Linked DNA regions of Homo sapiens: regions 1, 2, 3, 4, 5 and 7 are each linked to region 6. Evidence: promoter capture Hi-C in 16 types of primary human blood cells and fetal thymus (Javierre and others, 2016). All regions are on one chromosome and are shown on one strand. Each heading gives the region's core, a stretch centred on a gene start or on the middle of the fragment in contact. The rest is flanking DNA. Distances are from core to core; before and after follow the strand shown. Region 1 has its middle 17 kb from the start of LIMCH1-AS1. Region 2 overlaps LIMCH1 (LIM and calponin homology domains 1). Region 3 overlaps LIMCH1 (LIM and calponin homology domains 1). Region 4 holds the start of LIMCH1-AS1 (LIMCH1 antisense RNA 1). Region 5 overlaps LIMCH1 (LIM and calponin homology domains 1). Region 6 holds the start of UCHL1 (ubiquitin C-terminal hydrolase L1). Region 7 overlaps APBB2 (amyloid beta precursor protein binding family B member 2).

Region 1 (2,974 bases), core at 81-2,580, 450 kb before region 6:
ATCACTGAAACCTAAGTGCTTGCACCATATTCTTGACAGTGTTCCTGATGAAAGCACTACTTTCCACTGGAAATTTCTTAGGAGAATTAGATCTTGAATAAAGAGGTCTAGTGAGTTTCAGCCATGTTTACTCTCAGCCATAGCTCCCTGGCCCTTAACTCACCTGATCCTCCACTTCCTGCTGTCATAGTTCCAGATGCAAGTCCCAACTGATTTTATTATTATTCTTAAATTTTTATCTTTGGAGACAGAGTCGTGCTCTGTTGCCCAGGCTAGAGTGTGATTTCGGCTCACTGCAACCTCTGCCTTCCGGGTTCACGCGATTCTCCTGCTTCAGCCTCCTGAATAGCTGGGGCTACAGGTGTGTGCCACCATGCCTGGCTAATTTTTTTATACTTTAGTAGAGATGGGGTCTTGCCATGTTGCCTAGGCTGGTCTTGAACTCCTGAGCTCAGCCAATCCGCCCACCTTGGCCTCCCAAAGTGCTAGAATTACAGGTGTGAGCCACTGTGCCCAGCTCCAACTGATTTTGTTACCATTCTTGTGACTGGCCATCAAGAATTTTAAAAAGGTCTAACAATTAAACAAAAACCAAAACAAAACAAAATAAAACATGTCTGCATGTTGGTAAGGTATTTGTGTGATTTCCCAAAGGTATTAATTGTCCAGTCAATGTTTCTCAGAGTGTGTACTGTGAAACCTAAGTGCTAGAAGATGTTGAGAAGAGTCTGGAATAGAGCTTCTTAATGAAATATAGTTAGACAAAGATGTTAGTTTAACAAATTTAAACAGGCTCCTGCAGAATTGTGTAGGCCTTTGCTATGCTTTCTATATCTCCAAGAAAAAGGACATGCAGTGCTTTTTACTCAGGTGTAAACATGGAATCCGTTTCTTGAAGAGCATTTCATACAACGCCCCTGAGGAACACACTTTGGAAAATGTTCATCCCTGTCCAACTACCATGTTTGCGTGAGTTTATGATCTGCCTGCCGTTCATCAGCCTTTGTTATCAGGTATCCCAGGATTCTATTCTGTGACCAAAAAAAAAAAAACTAAAAAAAAAAGGAAAAGCTTTGCCCTTTTCTTTTCAAGGAGTAATAGGATGGAATAAATACCCAAAAGCAAATTTTTCCAAGAATGTTAGGTCTAATTCAAAATCAAAAGCCTCTGATTCATCTTCATTGTTGTATTTCTGAGGGCAGAGGACATTTGCCATTAACCTCTAACTGGATCTTAAAGTCCCTTCTGCTATGTAAATACATTGAGGCCATAACAAACTTGGGAGTGGTAACACTGTGGTTTTAGACAACTGACGTCAGATTTTACTGAAGCACTTTTATGACTCACTCTTAAGATGAGGACAAATGCTACACACGTAAACTGCAAATGGAGATGAGGGTCTGGTATCAACTAGAAGTTCATGTTAAGACCTGTCTCTCCCCCATGGGAACAGAACTCTAATTATATATATTGAAAGGCAGCAGCTGAAAAGCTCACAGTCCACTCACAGAGCAGCAACATGGCCGTACAATAGCCAGGCTCTCCCAGGACTAAATACTCAAATAAATGTTCTCTTTATTCAAGCTTGGGCTACCATTTCATTGCAGAGTTTTGTTAATTCAACAAATTCTATGAAACTGTCTTATCTGGTATGGATGTAGAAGAAGGCTTTCCTTCCCTCTTTTGTAACGTTCTTATTTTTCCATATTATAAAAGCCATGTAGATGGTCAGTGTGGAGAAAACACTCAGAAGTGTTCAGATAAAAATTTTTAAAAATCTATAATTACACTAATCAGAAATAACTGCTGTCAGTATCTTGGCATATCTAATTCAATATTTTCTTTTCAGATTGGTACATATTTATTTTGCAGAGGTTCTGAGAATATTTGTAAATTCTTTGTGGCCCTAATGCTATAGGCTAGAATTTATTTCAGGGGCAGATTCCCTCTTTTCAGAAGAGTTACTCTGATAAGCATATCCAGTAATATTGATACAAGTTAAACAAGAGGTTTTTTTTCATACTGTAGCCCTGAATATTGGTAATGTAATTCCACAACCTCAACTTTTACTATATTGTTACTAGTCCTAATGCATGGTCATCCTAATAGAAACGGCTGTTTACCATATACACTAAAATATGTCCTATTTAAAATGCATGATCCTGTTTAATCCTCACAATAACACTATATGGTATGTTTTACTATTATCCCCATTTTGCAGATGAGGAAACCAAGACACAGAGAAGATAAACAACTTGCCTGAAGTCACAAATGGTAAGTGGTGGAGCTGGGATGTGAACCTGGACATCCCAACTCCAGAGTCTGTGCTCCTTCTTTAGACAGAGATGTTAATTGAGGTGTTTAGTAAGGTAAAGGCTGTCTTTGCTGTGGGCTGGCTGTAAAAATCATAGTTATATTTGCTGGCATTATTTGGATTCCTTTAGCATGTTTAAATACAAGGGTGCTCTCCTAGGGGTAGGGGTGGAGGAACGAGGGGAGGAGAGAGAGAATAAAAGGAAACTATAGTTGGGAAAAGTGTGCCTCTCAACGTGGCAGCGGGCCAGAGGCCAGGAGCTAAGGAGGAAGGATGGACATGACTCCCTGTGAACACACATGGCCAGTGGATTTTAAGAGCAATGATACATTAATTCCAATTTGATGTTTTCCTTTCTTGCCTTGTAATCTGGCTATGCTATCCTCAAGCCATATTTAAACTTATTAAACCATGAGAGGCCCCTGTTAGCTGGTCTCTGAAGAATAAAACAGTGGTGGGTTGTTTCCATGTTTGGGGCTTCGCTGGACTGAAAAGAGGGGGAATTGCATATGGAAGGAATGACGAAACAGGCAAAAGTGACTGAAGAAGAAGCCTGGGGCAGCTACTGAGCAAGAACTGTGGGAAACAAAAACCAGGGCACTCTGAAGATCAGACATAATTGCAGAAAGGGCCAGATTTCTTGTAGTCCTGTAGAATGGA
Region 2 (3,107 bases), core at 501-3,000, 410 kb before region 6:
ATCTATAAAAATGAAGAATAGCTAGGGTCTGAAATATTGAAAACGCATCAAGGCAACAGGCATTTTAGAGGCTCTACCAAGGATACAGAATTCTCAGCTCCTAAGGCCAGGGAGTGCATCATGTTCACTGTTGACTATCCAGTACCTAGCACAGGGCCAGGCATGACATAGTAGGTGCACAGCCAATACTGGTTGAGTAAATGATGAATAAACTGGAACTACAAGTGGCAGATTTTTCACTTTAAGGTCATACCCAAATTGAGGGTCCATTCTGAAAGGTGGTACACCACTACGGATAGTCTTCCAGTTGTGCAAGTCCGTAGTGGTGGCCCATTAAAATTACCTGGGAGCTTTAAAAAATACAGATGCCTGGGCTCTGCCTCCACAGATTCTAATTTATTTGGTCTGGAATGGGCTTGGATTGTTTTGTTTGTTTGTTTTTGAGATGGGGTCTAGCTGTGTCGCCCAGGTTAGAGTGCAGTGGTATAATCACAGCTCACAGCAGCCTTGACCTCTTGGGCTAAGTGATCCTCCCACCTAAGCCTCCACAGTATCTGGAATTACAGGCACTCACCACCATGCCTGGCTAACTATTATTATTATTACTATTTTTTTTTTTTTTTTTTTTTAGAGATGAAGACTTTCTGGGTTGCCCAGGCTAGTCTTGAACTCCTGGGCTCAAGTGATCCTCCTGCCCTGGCCTCCCAAAGTGCTGGGATTACAGTTGTGAGCCACCACACCCAGCTAGCTTGTTATTTTTTAAATTCCCAAGAGTAATCAAGGTTGCGAACAACTGGTGTAACTGATGAATATTTTTAGACTCTGTACCTGAAAACAAATCAAACTAATGTGAATGAGATGAGACTCTAAACAAGGAAGAAACTTTAATAAAAACAAGACTTTAAAACCTATTATATCAGAATAATAATTTTCTAGGTTTCTTGTTATCCAAATCCAGTGGCATCAGAATTACCATGGCTAACAAATAGATGATTATTGGAGAGAGACTAGCCAGTAAGCTGACAGGTTAAAAAGCAAATAAGCAAACACACACAGCAAACTAAAACCTAACTGCAAGGCTTTAGAACTTATATTACACTTTTCCACAAAGAATAGCCTGGCCAACATGGTGAAACCCCGTCTCTACTAAAAATATAAAAATTAGCTGGGCGTGGTGGCAGACGCCTATAATCCCAGCTACTCGGGAGCCTAAGGCAGGAGAATCACTTGAACCCAGGAGGTAGAAGTTGTGGTGAGCAGAGATCACACCGCTGCACTCCAGCCTGGGCAACAAGAGCAAAACTCCATCACACACACACACACACACACACACACACACACACACACGAAAAAGAAAAACTACAGATTAAAGATAGGAAAAAAGATGAGGAGAGAAATAAATCTTCATTATTCACAACTGCCACAGCAGCAGCTAGCTGTAATATGGGGCCATGTTAACTTGTGGGTTTAACCGCTTTCCTCCACTCTGCACTTCACCTTTTGTGACAGCACCAACTCCACCTTTCCACTCATTTCATTTTCTGGTTTCTTCTGGTCTTTTTCTTCCGACACATCATTCTTCAGCTGGGGGCTGGAGGGAAATTCCACAAAGGCCACGGTCGGGCTGCATCGAGTCACAGTTGTTGTAAAATGCTGTGGTTCTGCAATGGAGTTACATCCAGAAACGTACAGAAGGAAAAGAAAATCAAATATCTATAGGACCATTTATTCTGCAATGCCATGAAGTACATTCAGTCCATATCCCGTCCTGGCAATATAAGCTGAATGACAGTGTGCTCAGAGATATAAAAGAGCCTAAGATGCTGGAATTCCCAAAGCTCTTTCATGGTATTGAACAACAAGCAACACAAATCACGTCCTATAACCACACTATGAAGAACTTAAGTTTTTAGTAAGGGTCACGGTTTACATCTGAATAACACCACATGGAACAGAATGCTGACACGAAATATATAATTATGACAGCTGGGCTAGATAAGAGAACATCTACAGGTAGTTTCTATCCCAGTGAATGAGCAGCAACCTGATGCTTCCTTTTTTTGTATTTCAATGCTCCATTTTAACATCAGAATTTCTTAATTGGAATGTGTTACGGATTGTGGGGTATATGTATATAATGCAATGAAAATAAAGTGTTCTCTGATACATAAAGAAGAATTAGGTTCACTTTAGAAGGGGTGGAAAAGTCACTACCTAAGGGGGCATATCAAAATGTGAAGGCACAATCTAGTTTGAAAAAGTAAATGCTATTATTTTAAGTGATATTTAATTTATTTAAAAATGTTACCTAAAAATAATTTGGTAATTGACAAATTATGTTTCTCAAGTGGTAAACACTGGAGAAAGGCCTTATAAAAAATAATAATTTGGTATTGAAAGAGGGTGAGAGGTTTTACTGTTTATCAAAAGAAGAAAAGTGTTAAACATATTGATAAGGCTGCAAAAAAATATTGAGGAACAAGACTTTCGGGAACAGGGTCTTCTTCCTAAAACAACGAATACAGTATATTATACTCACTGTCCAGATTCATGGCACTATTTTATTCATTTTTAACTATATGTGAGCTTTACCATTTCAGCGTCTATTTTTATGTTTTTGACCTCTCGCTTATCTATTGCTGTTACTGTGTGTCAAAATCCTACCCTCAATTTTTAGCATGATTTATATGGAAGAACACAATATTCTTTATGATTATAGGGATAAATATTTTAAAAAACAAAATAAAACTGGGTAGCTTTAAGAAAGAGCATGGGCTCCTATTTTCACAGCAACATTAACCATACGGGCAGAACTTCCCCAGGAAGCCTCTAGGTGGCAGCACAACCGCACCACTCCTGGAGTCTAATTACTACTTTCCTGTGGCTCAGTAGGAAAAATTCTTGACTATTTCCATTACATCTTAAACAGTTACCATGATTTGCCTTAAAACTAGTCTCTTATGAAACAAACCTGATGAGGCAAGTTCTATATTCCCTTTTCTTGATTTTCCACCATCATTCTTGTCCTCTTGACTATTCGGTTCCGTTTTCTCAGTGGTTGCCTGAAAAAGAGATTTTTTTCCCCCTTGAATAAATGATTCCTTTAA
Region 3 (2,907 bases), core at 311-2,810, 370 kb before region 6:
TGAGCCCAGGAGTTCAAGACCAGCATGGGCAGCATAGTGAGACCTTGTCTCTAGAAAAAATCAAAAGATTAACCAGGCATAGTGGCATGGGCCTGTAGTCCCAGCTATTCAAGAGGCTGAGGGAGAGGACTGCTTGAGCCCAGGAGTCGAGGGTACAGTGAACTGTGATCAAGCCACTATATTCCAGCCTGGGCAACAGAGCAAGACCCTGACAAAAAAAAAAAAGACACAAAGATAAGCATTTGATGCCTTCAAAATGAAATACCATGACTGCCAGGGGGAAACTGGGGGGGAAACATGACACACCTCGCCTTTTCTGACACTTTGAGTCTCTCCCACGTCTCCAAGTCAGCTTCTGTTATGTTGGAGAGCGTAATGAAGCTCGGGGGCTCGCGGTGAGGGGCAAGGCTGCCCTGAATTCTCTGCTGGGCCAGGTCATCCTTGTGAAGATCTGGCACCTTCCTGAGTCCTCCTTCCACAGGTTCACTTTCCTGAGCCCTCATGTTACAGGTCACTATCAACTTCACCTCTTCTGTGTGGCCCTGGTTTCTGTCCATTTGATCCGGGCCCCCACACCAATGGAAAAATCAAGTTCAAGGAAGGGGAGCAGACAAAGAGAATGTCAAGCATGGAAACTCACAGGCTGAGGACAGAACAAAATGATGGAAACACTTTTCTCTTTCTCAAAAATGGAATCAACGGGAGCTGTGATGACTTTCATCTATACCACCCTTATTACAACTCTGAATGAGACAGAGGTTTTTTTCCCCTTCCAGATGACAGTCTCAACTACAGTTTAGGAAAAGAAGCCGTGCCTGCTGAAAGATTACTAATGGTAATGAGATTTTGGTTGGATGGTAATGATGCCCAATTCCCACACTATTCAAGTTACTGTAATGAATTCGGGTTTTCTGATGAATCCCTTAGCCCTCTTGGAATGTTTTTTACTGCATTAGTAAAATGTTCATAATGAGCTCTGCATGATCCAAATTCTAGGATTAGTTTGGAGATAGCTGGAACATTGTTCACATATTAAACATCTCAAACCTAAACCCACAGCTGCCAGAAAGTACATCTAAGTCAATTCTGAACAGAAAGTTTCAATGTTTAAACTCAACGTCTGCTTCATGGCATTAGTCAGGTTTGGCTAATGCAAACTTGAAAAGCAGAGGGTATTCCTCTTTACCTGGATTGACAGGGTCAATACCCACTTGTTTCTTGTGTTAATAACCGTTCACCTTTATTGATGCTAAAACTGATATTTTCCATTGTTCTCCTATGAAGTGAACCTTAGCTGGCTAATGTTGACAAAACTGCGATTTAAACCAAAGCTGTGGCATTTATATATATAAATATTCCATTAAAAGTCTATTTCTAACTAAATATGCTTCTTGAAATAGAAAAATCTCAAAAAATATATAAATAGAGCCTATTAATCTTCCCACAAAATATATCATTCAAGCTGGAAAATCAAGAGGTAGTCTTTTGTTACCTTGATGATTTGGCATGCTTGCACAGCCCATAAAAATAGAAAGGCTATAGAATTTTCTTAGTTTGAGGAAGGAGATCAAGGAAGGGCATGGCAAAGAGGCACTAGGGACCCTTCTTTTTTTTTTTTTTTTTAATAAGTTCTTTGATGCTGTCTAGAGAGGTCAAGGGCTGCTTCAGACCCAGAACTGCGTCCGCAAACACAGAGTCAGGTGACAACAGACAAATATAGCTGGAAATATCAGGAATTAAAATTACATGGAGGAGAAAGGAAACAAGGGAGATACAAAGGCTAGTCCTTTTCCTGACTCAAATTGCTGATTGCCATCAATATGCCTTGATGTTAGTCAGTTATCCAAAAGTCTTTGTTTCACTTGCACAACTGATCCCTCCCACAAGGCCCTCCAAGAATGGTTTGTTACAAGGCCTGCCAACAGCAATGGCAAAGACCAAGGGCCTCCTGAAGCTATAATGTGTCCTGTAAAGAAATGATGCCAGATTTTCTCTTATCGAATCCCTGTTCTATATCCAGGAATCCCTCATGGGTTTTTGTATCTGGTACTTCCTAAGAAAAATCAAAAAGACCAACTACTCCCCTGAGCTCAACAACTCTGCCTAAAGAACCATTTTAATTGTCTAAAGCACAGCTGAGATAATTATATACTAAGTTCAACAGGCTTAAAAACCTCTAAAGTGATGGGCAAAAAGATGACAATTCAATAATGTAGATGCTAACTCTAGCTGATTTTGATATAAGGAAAAATACAAGAATGATTAACTCTGCAGGATGAAATTCAGCAAGTAGGTTCCCTAAATGAAATCATATCTCCCTCTCAGGACAAAAATCACTGGTCAAATTCCATCTTACTATAATTTTCCTGTCCCCAATTCACTCCAACATGTATTAAGAGGACGGGGAAAATGTTGGCAAAAGGAAACTGGCTTGAAAACAATTTCTATGACAGAACATATAGAAGTATAAGTTTGAGAAGTGTTTTTGATGGGAAATATCCATTATCATTTGTCTAGGTGATGTTGCTGGTGTGACAGAAGAAAGAACAAGTCTCATTTTTTTTTCTTCCAACATCTAAATGTAGCTAATAAGAGAGAAGTGCTTTTAGCGTTTTTCTGCTTCCTTTGAATGGACTAGAGCAGCTGTGAGAGGTGGCTGTTCTCTGATAGGCAATAGTACATGTCTATTTTTGCTAATAATGCCAACTGATGACACCAGCACCCATATGTGGTGATGAGCCCTGATTCAGCACATCTACACACTGGAATTCAATGTTTCTTTGGCAAATTCAGCCCTATTTTGGACATGGACACTCTACTGTCTGCCATCTGCATTTAAGGGAGATTGAATATCTAAAGTTCCGCTTCAAAATAAACCCCCATTACAAAGTACATATAATTGAGAGG
Region 4 (2,993 bases), core at 108-2,607, 440 kb before region 6:
AAGAAAAAATCATTTTTGTGGCCTACCTCCAAATCACTTTCTTATTTTTCAGCTGATTACAGGAACTCCATGGTTTTGAAATTAAAAGCAGTTAATGCCCTTTATATTTGTATATTTAAGAGAAAAATTCCTGGTCTTGAATTAAAAAGCTAATTTCCAAAAGAAATGACAAAGAATCACCCAACCTCTCAATTTAAAAAAATCTAGATGAAAAGAGGTCACTGTCACCCAGAGGGGGGTTCAGGTTGTTCTGTTGGCATCCTTCAAGCACTTTAAATTATTAAACAAACTCAGATCTACAGCACTTTTCAAATCTTTCTGAGCAGTCCTTCAACCTAACAGTGCCCTCTTCTGGTTCCATAAATTACATTCACTGTGGTTCACTGAGGTAGAGAAAAAGAATAATTTATAGAAGACGATAGGAAAATTCGCATTGAAATCTGGGAGAAAAGAGTTGTTTTCCTTGTTAGCATATAAAAGCAAAAGTCCAGTTTAAATAAAATGTATATAATTATTACCTATTATACATGTACTATATATGTTAATTTGTGTGTATATATTTATGATATATGGTATACTATTTATATAATTTAATATATAAAATACATAGTATAAAAACTAATATCATGCATGATCTAAATAGTCCAGTTTGATAGCAGCGGCTCTAAGTTGGAACTGTTTTGATCTCAAGTCAAATATTTATTATAAATCTAAACTACCTGGGTTTGATTAAATTTTTATTTCCCATTTTATTAATAGGCATATTTAACTGAATTTACTAAATCTATAGCTATAAAACAAATTACCTTCAATTTTTATTCTCAAAGTTTTCAGTCTTGCAGAGATTTGAGATCCATGTAAAAAGGCAGTAAAAACGTGACTTCACTTTGAGAAATAGTCATTCTTGAATTTCACACTCCCTATCTTCACTCCAATTTTTTAAAAGAGTTTCTGACTGATGAATCTGCACTAAAAGGTCTTCTGCTGTCTAGGTGACCCACCAGAAGGACTGTACTCATGATGGAGAATGAGGAAACATTCCGAGGCAAGCCACTGGCCATTTTCAGATTTTCTAAACAGCGGCTAGGCAACAGCACCCCCTGCTGCCCCGCAAACTAACATGCACCTTCCACAGTAGGAGGCCCGGATGCAAGACGGGAAAGCAAGCAGGCTTCTCACTTACTAAGGCAGCAAATAATTTGTTAAGCGCATATTGTTACTAAGATATTGTAGAGGTGGGAGGTGGGGAAGAATCCACAGAGAAGTGGAACCCTCATTGTTGTCTCTCAAGGAACTTTCCATTCAGTTGGGAACACATATGACGTAATGAAACTCCTGAATGTAGGGCGTGGAGACATTGATGAGTTGGTGCTCGATCTGAGAAACAGTGGAGAGCCGCTCTCCACATTTAACCATCCCCAAATGGTGCCAGTCGTCTAAAGACATGCCTGAACAAGTGACAGTGTTTGACAGACCTTATATCTCCTTTCTATCACACCAAAATCTCTGTAGTGAGCTCAGGCAATGTTTTGACCTGCTGGTGTGCTGATGCACTTCAGGATAAAAAGAATTGGTCCACATTGTAGCAATAACTTCCAGGAAGAAACGAGTGGTAAATATCTTTTCTTTTTTAACCTAGATGTTAAGAAACCTTTCTCTCAGATTAGAGTGTCAACGGCTGGGGAAAAATATTTGAATTCCTAAATTGGGTCCTATGGAAGACATACGATTACACTCGGTCATCATGAGGCATTCTCCCCAGTACTTACTTCTGGATCGCATGTAGCAATCATTACAGTTCAGGAGACCATTTCGAATCCTAACATCCGTCCCACTCACTGCATCTCCAAGCTGGCCTTTACAAATTCCACACTATAGGGTAAAAAGAACAGACATCATAAGATGCATAAGGAATTGTTTCTTTCTAATGCTTAGTTACTGTTTATGTGAATAGCACAATAATCCCTTCTACAATCACCACATTTGTGGAGCATCTATTATGTGTAAGATGCTGCACCAGTGTCAACTTACAGCAAAAGCAAATATACAGTTAGCAATTTTAGCTTAATTCCTTGCATTTTACAGAGAAGGACACTGGTTCAGTGAGGTTTGTTGGCTTGTTCCTAGGTTGTGGAGCTGATAAGTGGTAGCAGGTTGACTCCAAAGCCTAGCGTCTTAACCTCTATCATACACCGTTTCTCAATCAAAATGGAAGAACCATTTTAAACACATTAAACCCTAGTGGCTTTAAATAAACACATGGCCAATGAGTTATCAATTGAAATGTGTCCATCAATAATCTTTAAAGGCTTGCCAGCATCGTTGCTAAGTTCTACCAGATCAAAATTTCTAGGAAGTACCTGTTCCATTTGTTTATTTTATTTATTTTTTAAGACAGTGTCTCGCTCTGTAGGCCAGGCTGGAGTGCAATGGCATGATCTCAGCTCACTGCAACCTCCACTTCCTGGGCTCAAGCAATTCTCCTGCCTCAGCCTCCTGAGTAGATGGGATTACAGGCGTGTGCCACCACGCCTGGCTATTTTTTTTTTTTTTTTTTTTTTGTATTTTTAGTAAAGATGGAGTTTCACCATGTTGGCCAGGCTGGTCTCGAACTTCTGACCTCAGGTTATCTGCCCACCTTGGCCTCCCAAAGTGCTGGGATTACAGGCATGAGCCACCGTGCCCAGCCTGCTGTTCCATTTTATATTTCCACATTAAAAGCAGTGATATTCAGAGCAACAAATCCACTGGGAATTTCCACCAACACAGGCTGAGTGCAGAAAGAGACTGTAGGATATACTTGGATGTTTGTACCAGAAGGGTAGAAAGGCAGTGGAAGTTGGTGTGGGTGCCAGCCTCTTGCAGGGGGACCAGGATCTAGCCCCTAATTCATGCTCTAAGGTGACCTGGGACAGAGTGAGGCTTAATCCAAATTATGTCATAAGCTGCCTCTACATTGCAAGAGTGGGGAATAAATCCAAGAGGGGATGTAC
Region 5 (2,899 bases), core at 208-2,707, 390 kb before region 6:
GCCTCACTGATGGTGAACCTCTCAATGTACTGTTGAAGGATCCCCTCTGCCTCCTCCTGGGACCGAGCGTTCTTATATGCTTCATGCAGCTCTCTCTCTCTCCGCTCTCTAAAGGACATGGGAGAAGCAATAACAAAGTCAACTAATGAAAATTGCAAAGAAGACCTTGGTAGAAACGAAGGTAGCACTGAAGAGATAGTACAGGGAATATAAAATGTTACTATCAGAACCTTTGTGACAGCCAATAATTTTTAGAAAAAAAAAACACCTAGATAATATTGTACATTAAAAACGACAACAGAAAGAACTCACTTTTCTTGAACAATTTCTCTGTAGGTTTTGATGCTTTTCCTTCGTTCACTTGTCCCATCTTCTCCAGCCAGTAACTTCTCCATTTTTTTCCTTTCTTCCTCTTTCTTGATTAAGTCCTGAGAAACACTTCTTCTACGACTCTTCCAACGAGCCAGGTCCTGGCAGGGAAAGAAAGATATAATATTCTTCTTCAGACTTGTGCATAATTCCATTTCTATTCTTCAGAGTTTAGTCATTTCTACTCTTTAGAGAACTGACTATGGGCCCAGGCACTATAACATCGTGTGCATTCCCACACAATCCAATGTAAGTCTGGTTGGAACTGGAATGCCTCAAAGGCAGAAACATCCAGATATTATCTACAGTATCCATAGCAGGGCTGCACATTTATTTAAATATGGCAGTGTGAAATATGCAATCACATTTCATGTCAGTTGCCAAATTTCAGAGAATTGCCTCACAAGGTAACTGTAAGAAACTTCATTCCTTCCTATTTATAACCTCTGCATTGTGAACAGATTTGCTGACAATAGAATAGTAGGGATTCATTTACAGTTTCCACATGGAAGGCAGTCAAGGCAGAAAAAAAACTGTTTTGGAGTCTTTAGATCTGGTGATTCTATATGTATTAATTCATCTGATCCTTACAACAACCTCACCACAATCCTACAGGTAGTTATAGCATAATGATGAAGAGTGAGGATTCTGGAGGCAGATGGTTGGGGTTGCAGCTGTGGGAAATAATCCCAGCTCTGTCTTTTCCATGCTTTGGAATCTCAGGCATGTTTCTTAGTCTCCCTGTGCCTCCATTTCCTCCTCTCTAAAATGATGATAATAGCACCTATTCTTACAAGCTTGCAGGGTTAAATGTGAAAATAGACGTAAGGTGCCAGGCACATAGTAAGTGCTCAAGATACTTTAGACATAATTGTTACTATATTTTATGAACTTTGGAGAAGTTAACTTTTTAAACTAAAGGTGGAGTCAAGTTTGCAATAGCTACCTCCAGAGTGCTTTGTGAGAATTAAATGAAATAATCCACTCTCCCTCCTCTCTCCCCGCTTTGGCTCTCAGCACACAATCTCAAAGCCCTCATCAGCCTCTTTAGCCTTCCTTCCCTGGTTCTAATCCTGGCTCCCCCACTCGCTAGCTATGTGACGTTCAGCAAGTGACAGCTGTGCTGGGATTCGTCTGTGGAATCGAGGACAATAAGAGTTGCTAGTTCATTGAGTTACTAAGAGGATTAAATGAATGCATGCAAAGTACTTAGAACAATGCCTGGTACTGGTACACATTTGATGTTGGTCATTGTTATCGTTACTACCATCATCATCATGATCAATTTGAAATATATAACCTCAGAAGATAGTGCAGCCTCAATTCTACAACCCATCCCAGTTTCCTGCCTCCCCTCCCCTCTTTTGTGACCAAGCTTCTGGCCAGGGTGTTTGCTGATTACATGTCTGGGCCATCACTCCATACCTTCACGCTGCTACTCACCTTCCTTTGAGTCCCACATTTACCGTGTCACCTTTTGAAACCCTCTAGGGGCTCCCTTTCCCCGCATGGCTTTCAAGTCCACGTCTACCCACCCGGCTGGATTTTCTGCTGCCAGAAGCCTCCCCGCTGCCCGCGCGCCTTGGCCACAACTCACATCTTGCCATTTGTCGTCCTCTTCCCTCAGCTGGTTATTTATCAGCTGCAGCTGCTCCTGGCGGGCCCTGCTGTGCGGCTGCACCGCGGCCTCCTCCTCACACCGCATGTCAAACATGCTGGTGCTCCTGAGTGTGGAGAGAGCGAACACAAGAGGGACCGCGATCAGCGCCCGTCGCGTCTCCGCGCGCCTGGGCGTCCTGCCGCGTGGGGGCGCTACCGGGCTTGGAAAACTGCCCCCTTCCCGGGCTGCGCACAGCGCGTGACTGGCGGTGTGTTCTGGCCCTGGGCGGGCGGTGGGCGTGCTGGCACCCCACCGCCTCCTTTTGCCGCAAACGCCAAAATGTGACCGTCTTTGTCTTCAGTGATGTCACTGAATCGGGTCAATATCATTTTATATGTAGGTGCCAAAATAGGTTTAAAGAAGAGCTAGAAAAATGGTATTTGAAGCCCCAGGCTCCTCTCACTTGGAAATGCATTTAAAAAATAAAATTAAGATAATTAAAAGGTATAACCTGGGTAGAATTTGTGGGGAAAGAGGGCGGTGTTCCATGAAGTAAAACTGTATTACGTTAAATGCTTCTTTGTGTAGAAAGCTGGCTTAAAGGCTTCCTATGTGAATGGAGGCAATTTCTCCATTTCCAAAAAAATATCATTTGGCCTTAAGTTTAAGACACTCACTTTTTCTTATTTTATTTTATTGAATTTTAGATGCATCTGACAACTATGGATGGCTGATGTATATGTTCATTGTAATCATTTCTTTTTATTTCTTGTAAAACTGCTGTAATTGATAGTGCAGTTGATGGCATCTTGGAATCAAGAAAACAAGGCATTTTATAACAAGAGTAAGGAGTAAAACACATAAATTAGGTATATATTTTGTATTCTAATATGCACACAGTCATTTAATTTTTGTCAGGATAACTCTGAA
Region 6 (2,978 bases), core at 285-2,784:
TAGGAGGAAAATCATTTCAAGGGAAATGCAAAGGTGCTTTCAAAACTGAGCTAATAACCCCCTATTTCAGTTAGCTACAAGGTCAGAGATGAACAAGGATAAGTGAAGAGGAAGGAGGTTCCCACACAGAAACCATACACAAAATGATTAAGCTTTAAGAAATACATTCAAGAGGCTAAAAACCAAGTGTGCAAGTGGTGGGAGTGGAGAAGAGAGAAGAACCCCTTAAGACCATCAGAAACCCAAGTAATGGAGGCGGAGAATTAGCGAACCTAATTGTTTCCCTGCGATTTAGGTCAGCCCTTCCCCCTCCATTCTACAGCTAGGTGGGAGTCTGAGAAGCAAACAATGAGTTGACAGGTTATAGCCCTTAAAGGGAAACCAGCAGCCATTCCCCGGAACCGGAGGCTCGAAAAAGCCCAAGTTCGAGGGAACTCATGAGTAGGATGAATGATTTCCCTGGATAACGGGATAGATGGAACTGAGATACTGCCTCTCTTCCAAATTTAAGGCAATTGTGGACGGATGGGCAAGAAGGCGACAGGCACCGCTGGAACAGGAGCCCAGGGAGTAGGTACCACGAAAATGCAGGCTCCTCCCTTCCTTGTAGGCGCGCCCCGCATCACCTACAGGGGAGGGGGCGGGGCGGGGAGCCCCCGAGGACTCAAGCTGGGGAGCGGCGTGCACTGCCGGCGGCCGGCGCATCCTGGGCCCCACGCCCTACCTGGGCCGTGAGGGGAAACAGCAGCAGCAGCGCGCAGGCAGGCGCTGGCACCGAGCCCAGAGACTCCTCTTCCAGCCCCAGCACGTCCACGAAGCGCCACTGGCCGGCGACCCCCAGCCGGGACAGCACCTGCGGAGAGGAGACAAGGCGGCCAGGCGCACGGGGACACGCGGGTCGCGGGCACCTGCCAGGGGGCGGGGCCAGGAGGCGCGCGCCCTCCGCGCCCGCACCCGAGCCTGGGAGGAGCCCCAGTCCCGCCCTGCCACCCCCACCCGGGCCGGCGCAATGACACAGCACAAAGCGCGGCCCACACGTGGCGCCCGCGAAGCCCGTGCAGCCGAGTCTGTGCTGCCCGCGCCACGCCCTCGGGAGCTCCGCCTGGCGCTCGCTCGCCACGGGGCGCAGCCCCCTCCGTCTCCCCGTGACCGGTTTCGTAGAGTCACCCGCTAAATGCAGGGGCCCAGGAAAGGCGCCCAGCCCACGCCCCAGCCCGGCCGTCTCCGGTGCTCGCAGCGGGCGGCTTGGTCCCTGCCAGCAGCCGGAACCGGTGGGCGCCCCCGCCTCGGCGCTCGCGGGGGAGGGGGCCAGAGACGGCGCGAGACGCCACTCACTTTGTTCAGCATCTGAAAGGCAAATGCAAAGAAAAAGGCAAAACCGAACCGATCAGCGACTCGGCTCCCCCTCCCTCGGCCTCGCGCTCTCCGGGTAGCGGTGCACCTGGCGCTCACCTCGGGGTTGATCTCCATCGGCTTGAGCTGCATCTTCGCGGAGCGCCCGGCAGAAATAGCCTAGGGAAGACGAAAAACAGCTAGCGGAGCCGCCCAGGCTGCAGCTATAAAGCGCCGGCCAGACGCACTGTGAGGCCTGTGCAGGGGGAGCAGGGGCAGAACCAAGCGAGGGGGAAACGGACGGTCGCGGCCAGATGGGTACGAACCCCCCGTGCGCAGCGCGGAGTGGTACGGCCGGGCCCCCAAACCTTGCAGTCTCACTCGCCGGTGAGATAATCTGGTGGTTGTGGAGACGGGATTTGTTGGTGGGTGTTCCTTGAGTGTATGGAGCAGTCCTTTTGATGGAGTCTTTAATTTTGGGCGAAGTTTCTGGAAACCCATCCTTTCACCATCCCAATTACTCTAAAGCTCGAGTCTCTGAAGCATTTGAGAAAAAGCACAAATTCAACAGGTATATATTTAATACGAATGAATGTAAATGTGTGCCCCCCGCCCCAAATCTCTCAGCAGTTTGCGTTTAACCTTAGACAATTCCTCCTCCATGTTAAGTCAGACCAGTACCGAGGTTCGTTTTTAAGTGACTACCTAGAATAAAACAGAATCTGGTAGATAACAGATACTGCATTAGGAATGCTGATGTAATGTGACTCCCGCGGAAGAAATGGTTGGTCCTGGGAGAGCAGTAGAAAGCTGGGGGATGTGAGGGTAATACAAGACACAAAGAAGGCAGGCGATTGGAGACTTGAGAAAACAGATCCAGGGAAAAGATGGGTATGATTTTGAGCGAGAGGCTGTAAAAGGAAAAGCATTTTTAAAAGAATGGGAAGCTTTGAAAAATAAAATGTCTGAGTTCACCGCAGAATACTCCCAATGAAGAAGAAAGGGAATGGCAACCAAGGAAACCACTGTTCTCTAATGATCTCAGGTGATCTCTAATGATCTCTAGTCAAAAGATGGAGAGAGAAAGCATTTGCTGAAGAATGAATTTTAAAAGGGACCAAAATCTATAAGAATTGTGCCAGGAAAGCTAAGCTGCAGAACAAAGTGGGCTTGCAGAAATACTTAGGTAGCGAAGGAAGCAAGAAGGTTGAGTATTTTTTAAAAATAGGCACCGAAGAGAATAATGATGATGGTAAAAGAATAGACCTTCTATTTAGGAAGTTGAGGTTAACAGATGACAGAGGGAAGGGAGGGAATCAACATTTTTTGAGTTATTGTTTTTGGGGATCCTTTGCATGTGTCTCTCATTTAATCCTTAGAGGAGCCGTGAAGAGACTCATATTAGTGCAATTTTACAGATCAGAATCCCAGGCCTAGAGAAGTTAATTTGCTTACGGTCACAATTGAAAAGTAAAACTGAGAAGTAAACCCTGCTAAACTGGGCTCCAAGAGCCCATTCTTTATCTAAGATTCCACAACATTCTACTTCTATTTTCTTTCCATTTTTGCCATTAGAAAATGACCTTCACACACAAAAATGAGAGAGAAAAAAATTAGTAAGAGGAGCTTAATGGGTGAATCTTATG
Region 7 (3,007 bases), core at 363-2,862, 330 kb after region 6:
GCTTCTGCAGCGAAGTAGACATAGTCTTTCTATGCAGTATCTTCTAGTTCTTTTATGGCCATTTGCAACCAGTTCGCAGCTGCTCAGGAACTTTTTTTATTGGCACTGGATTTTGTGAAAGCTTTGTGTGCCTCCTTACTCTTTTGTTATAACTTACCTCAGATGGAGAGGAAGAGGAAGGAGATGAAACAAACCATCGGGTAGTAGGTTTGACGGAGCTTTCTGAACTGAATGGCGAATGGACATGAGATTCCAATATTCATCTGTGAGCTTTATTTATCTGTGCCCTCCCTTGGTTCCTATTAGCATAGATTTTCATGAAGTAATTATATTAGCAGCTACTGACTAGATTAGCACTAATAGATAAGCAGGAAGTAGTAGGGAAGTACCTTTTCTCATTCAGATTTATTTCTGGTCTGTGTAGCAAATTCATTGTCATTACTTAGCATTTATATGGGATGTTACAGCTGCATGTAGTTCTTATAATTGATTTTTATTCACGTGGTACAGGTTTCTTTCAGAAATCCTGATCTGTGTGGAAGTTTGGGTTTGATTTGCACTGTTGATTCATTCATTGAGTCAGAGACGTTTATTGAATGCTAAGTGCGAAAGGAGCATACATACTTAATGTATGGTGTGGTTAAGAGCATGGACTCTGGACCCAGACTGCCCGGGTTTAAAGCCAGGCTCTGCTGCTTACCAGCTGGATGACCTTGGGCAAGTTACCTACCCCCTCTGTGCCTCAGTTTCTTCATCTGCAAAATGAGGGTAATGATGGAGCCAACCTCACATGGCTGTTATAAACATTGAATTGACATACTATAAACACTATAAATATACATGTAAAGGTCTTGGAACAGTCCTTAGCACATAATAAGCATTCTTTATGCATTCGCCATTATACTGTTCCTACTACCAGAAGGAATGGATATGGCCCCTGCCTTCAAGTAATGGAGAAGAAACAAGCAAATTCAATGCACTGTACCAGGAGCTGAGCTACTGAGTCACGAATGGGGGTTGTTCCGGGGGCATATTCCATGGCTGGTTGAAAGGGGTGGCTCGGGTGGTTTCCCAGAAGGAGACGATACCTTAGCTAATAAGTATATTTGAATTGTCACTGGAGTTAGTGATTCCCTCTCCCCCCGCCACCATACTTTTCAAAAAATGTAAGTGTGGAAGCTTTGAAAATGATTTGATATGTAAATTTGTGTTCATTTTCAGCAAATGCTTTTAGGAACAGATCTGTTAAGATGAGGTCCATCTGTATTTGCCCAATACTGTGGATAACATTGTTTCTGTTATCTGTTCCTGCGTGCTATGTAGCAAACTGCACCAAAACTTCGTAGCTTAAAACAATTATTTATTTTGCTCAGGATTTAGTGGGTTCCAGAGTCTGGGGAGGGTTTGGCGGTGCAGTTCCTGCCTGATCCACATGGGGGCGGCCGGAGCTGGAGGATCCTCTTCAAAGATGGCTTCTTCTCCAACCTGCTTCCTGGCTCAGTGCTCCTCCTCACGTCCTCCAGGGCCTCTCCATGTGGCTTGGTCTTCTCATGGTGTGGTCTCTGGGTAGGCAGTTGTACTTTTTACCTGGTGTCCAGCTTCTAAGAAGCAGGAAGGTGAAGCCACCAGGTGAGGAAAGGCTCTTCTTGGCAATGGCAGCATGTCACTTCCACCGTATTCTGTTGTTCAGAGTTGTCAGACTCCACTTCTTGATGAGACGTGGCAAGTTCACGTTACAAGGAGCGCATAGGACGGGAGGTTTTAATGCAGCCATCTTTGGGAGGTACAATCTGCCAAACATGTCATTCCCACATTTCAGTCATTCAAAATTAGTGCCTTCAGTACAGGGCAGAAAATAGCAACATGGTTGAATCACGAAACCAAGGTCCAGAGCCAGTGATGGATATATCAAGTCCTGGCTGAATGAGATTCAGCCTCTCATGCATGGCTTTTAGGTTGGCATTCACAAGGGGAAAATAAGGATCATCTCATTCCAGCCTTAGGAAAAGCAGAAGGCGCAGAGAAAGTAACCTGCCCAAGCTTGCACAGCTGGTCGTGGCAGAGCAGGACCCGAAGCCAGGCTCCCTGACCCTTGTCCATCCTGCTTTTCCGTTGAGTGGTGCAGACACTCACTGCCATTGGCCTTGGCTGCTCATTTTGCCTCCTATCCCGGAGGACAGCTTTTGTGTTTCTAAAACTGTTTTCCTCCCTTTATTTGCCAACTCGGCCAAGCATAATGCCGTGTTCCTGGCAGAAGCACGGTGTTATTTCCCTTATTAACTTCTGGTCACTACACTTGCCTGAATGAGCGGTCGAGGAATTGGCAGCCGTGTGTGAGTCCCCGAGTTTTGAAGGGTGCTGTTGAAACAAGATGCATTGTTGTCTAACTCTTGGCAGCTGCGCCCTCTGATGGGCAGATGCCTGGAAAAGCTAATGAAGGAAAGGCAGACTTCCCTCTTCCCCTGAAGGAATGAGGTAGGAAACAGGTGAGGAAATGGGCACCAGCCAGCCGCGGTGGCAGCAGCCGCCATCCTGATGGCACCAGAGCGGCAGGTGTGTGAACCTGGCCTGGTGGGTTCTTGGCACAGAATTTTGGGCCATGAATAATCACAGAACTGAACAGCCTCGGGCAGGAGTAGCCATGGGACATCCATTCAGCAGGTCTGGGTGCTCCAGGAAGGCCAGCTGGTCGAGACCTGGGGGTCCTGAAGCTGGCATTCCAAGGCCATCTGGAAAAGAGCCAGCACGTCTCAGAACTTGTTCTCTCAGGCTTGCTGCCTGAGAGCTTAATGCCAGATACTGGTATTTAGATAGTGATGAAAACATTTCTGCTTTATTTGCAGTTTAAAAATTGATGGAGAGGCTGGGCACGACCGTGGCTCACGCCTGTAATCCCAGCACTTTGGGAGGCCGAGGCGGGCGGATCACAAGGTCAGGAGATCGAGACCATCTTGGCTAACACGGTGAAACCCCGTCTCTACTAAAAATACAAAAAATTAGCCGGGCG

Evidence for each region. Contacts are between HindIII fragments. The CHiCAGO score rates a contact against its expected background, and 5 or more counts as called.
Region 1: a fragment that was not itself captured here is called in contact with the fragment with the promoter of UCHL1 in region 6 in 1 of 17 cell types (monocytes); the score reaches 5.7 in monocytes.
Region 2: a contact is called between a fragment that was not itself captured here and the fragment with the promoter of UCHL1 in region 6, in 8 of 17 cell types (M2 macrophages, monocytes, megakaryocytes and 5 more). The highest score is 12.3, in M2 macrophages.
Region 3: a fragment that was not itself captured here is called in contact with the fragment with the promoter of UCHL1 in region 6 in 3 of 17 cell types (monocytes, M0 macrophages and megakaryocytes); the score reaches 6.4 in monocytes.
Region 4: a contact is called between the fragment with the promoter of LIMCH1-AS1 here and the fragment with the promoter of UCHL1 in region 6, in 7 of 17 cell types (monocytes, megakaryocytes, endothelial precursors and 4 more). The highest score is 10.5, in monocytes.
Region 5: a fragment that was not itself captured here is called in contact with the fragment with the promoter of UCHL1 in region 6 in 7 of 17 cell types (megakaryocytes, M0 macrophages, M2 macrophages and 4 more); the score reaches 12.4 in megakaryocytes.
Region 7: a contact is called between a fragment that was not itself captured here and the fragment with the promoter of UCHL1 in region 6, in 2 of 17 cell types (M0 macrophages and endothelial precursors). The highest score is 7.8, in M0 macrophages.

What each region holds. Positions count from the first base shown.
Region 1 is chr4:41,708,424-41,711,397 of GRCh38, reverse strand. No RefSeq gene overlaps it. Among named protein-coding and RNA genes, the nearest start is that of LIMCH1-AS1, 17 kb to the right of the region's middle. The HindIII fragment of the contact is 513 bases long and covers 1,074-1,586 here.
Region 2 is chr4:41,661,375-41,664,481 of GRCh38, reverse strand. LIMCH1 (LIM and calponin homology domains 1) reads right to left here. Exons shown (of 32, transcript NM_001330672.2): 19 at 2,972-3,062; 20 at 1,498-1,661. Among named protein-coding and RNA genes, the nearest start is that of LIMCH1-AS1, 30 kb to the left of the region's middle. The HindIII fragment of the contact is 9,051 bases long and covers 1-3,107 here.
Region 3 is chr4:41,627,134-41,630,040 of GRCh38, reverse strand. LIMCH1 (LIM and calponin homology domains 1) reads right to left here. Exons shown (of 32, transcript NM_001330672.2): 9 at 307-549. Among named protein-coding and RNA genes, the nearest start is that of LIMCH1-AS1, 64 kb to the left of the region's middle. The HindIII fragment of the contact is 4,189 bases long and covers 1-2,907 here.
Region 4 is chr4:41,691,161-41,694,153 of GRCh38, reverse strand. It overlaps LIMCH1-AS1 (LIMCH1 antisense RNA 1), which reads left to right and starts at 1,357. Exons shown (of 3, transcript XR_002959789.2): 1 at 1,357-1,612. LIMCH1 (LIM and calponin homology domains 1) reads right to left here. Exons shown (of 32, transcript NM_001330672.2): 31 at 1,770-1,872. The HindIII fragment of the contact is 18,346 bases long and covers 1-2,993 here.
Region 5 is chr4:41,643,694-41,646,592 of GRCh38, reverse strand. It overlaps LIMCH1 (LIM and calponin homology domains 1), which reads right to left. Exons shown (of 32, transcript NM_001330672.2): 15 at 1,967-2,093; 16 at 313-470; 17 at 1-108. Among named protein-coding and RNA genes, the nearest start is that of LIMCH1-AS1, 48 kb to the left of the region's middle. The HindIII fragment of the contact is 578 bases long and covers 1,169-1,746 here.
Region 6 is chr4:41,255,484-41,258,461 of GRCh38, reverse strand. UCHL1 (ubiquitin C-terminal hydrolase L1) reads right to left here and starts at 1,534. Exons shown (of 9, transcript NM_004181.5): 1 at 1,453-1,534; 2 at 1,336-1,347; 3 at 725-853. The coding sequence starts at 1,485. It overlaps UCHL1-DT (UCHL1 divergent transcript), which reads left to right and starts at 1,735. Exons shown (of 3, transcript NR_102709.1): 1 at 1,735-1,903. RefSeq lists an enhancer at 324-824 and a silencer at 659-1,418. The HindIII fragment of the contact is 2,127 bases long and covers 155-2,281 here.
Region 7 is chr4:40,923,132-40,926,138 of GRCh38, reverse strand. The region is part of intron 10 of APBB2 (amyloid beta precursor protein binding family B member 2); the gene reads left to right. Among named protein-coding and RNA genes, the nearest start is that of NSUN7, 170 kb to the right of the region's middle. RefSeq lists a silencer at 2,013-2,307. The HindIII fragment of the contact is 861 bases long and covers 1,182-2,042 here.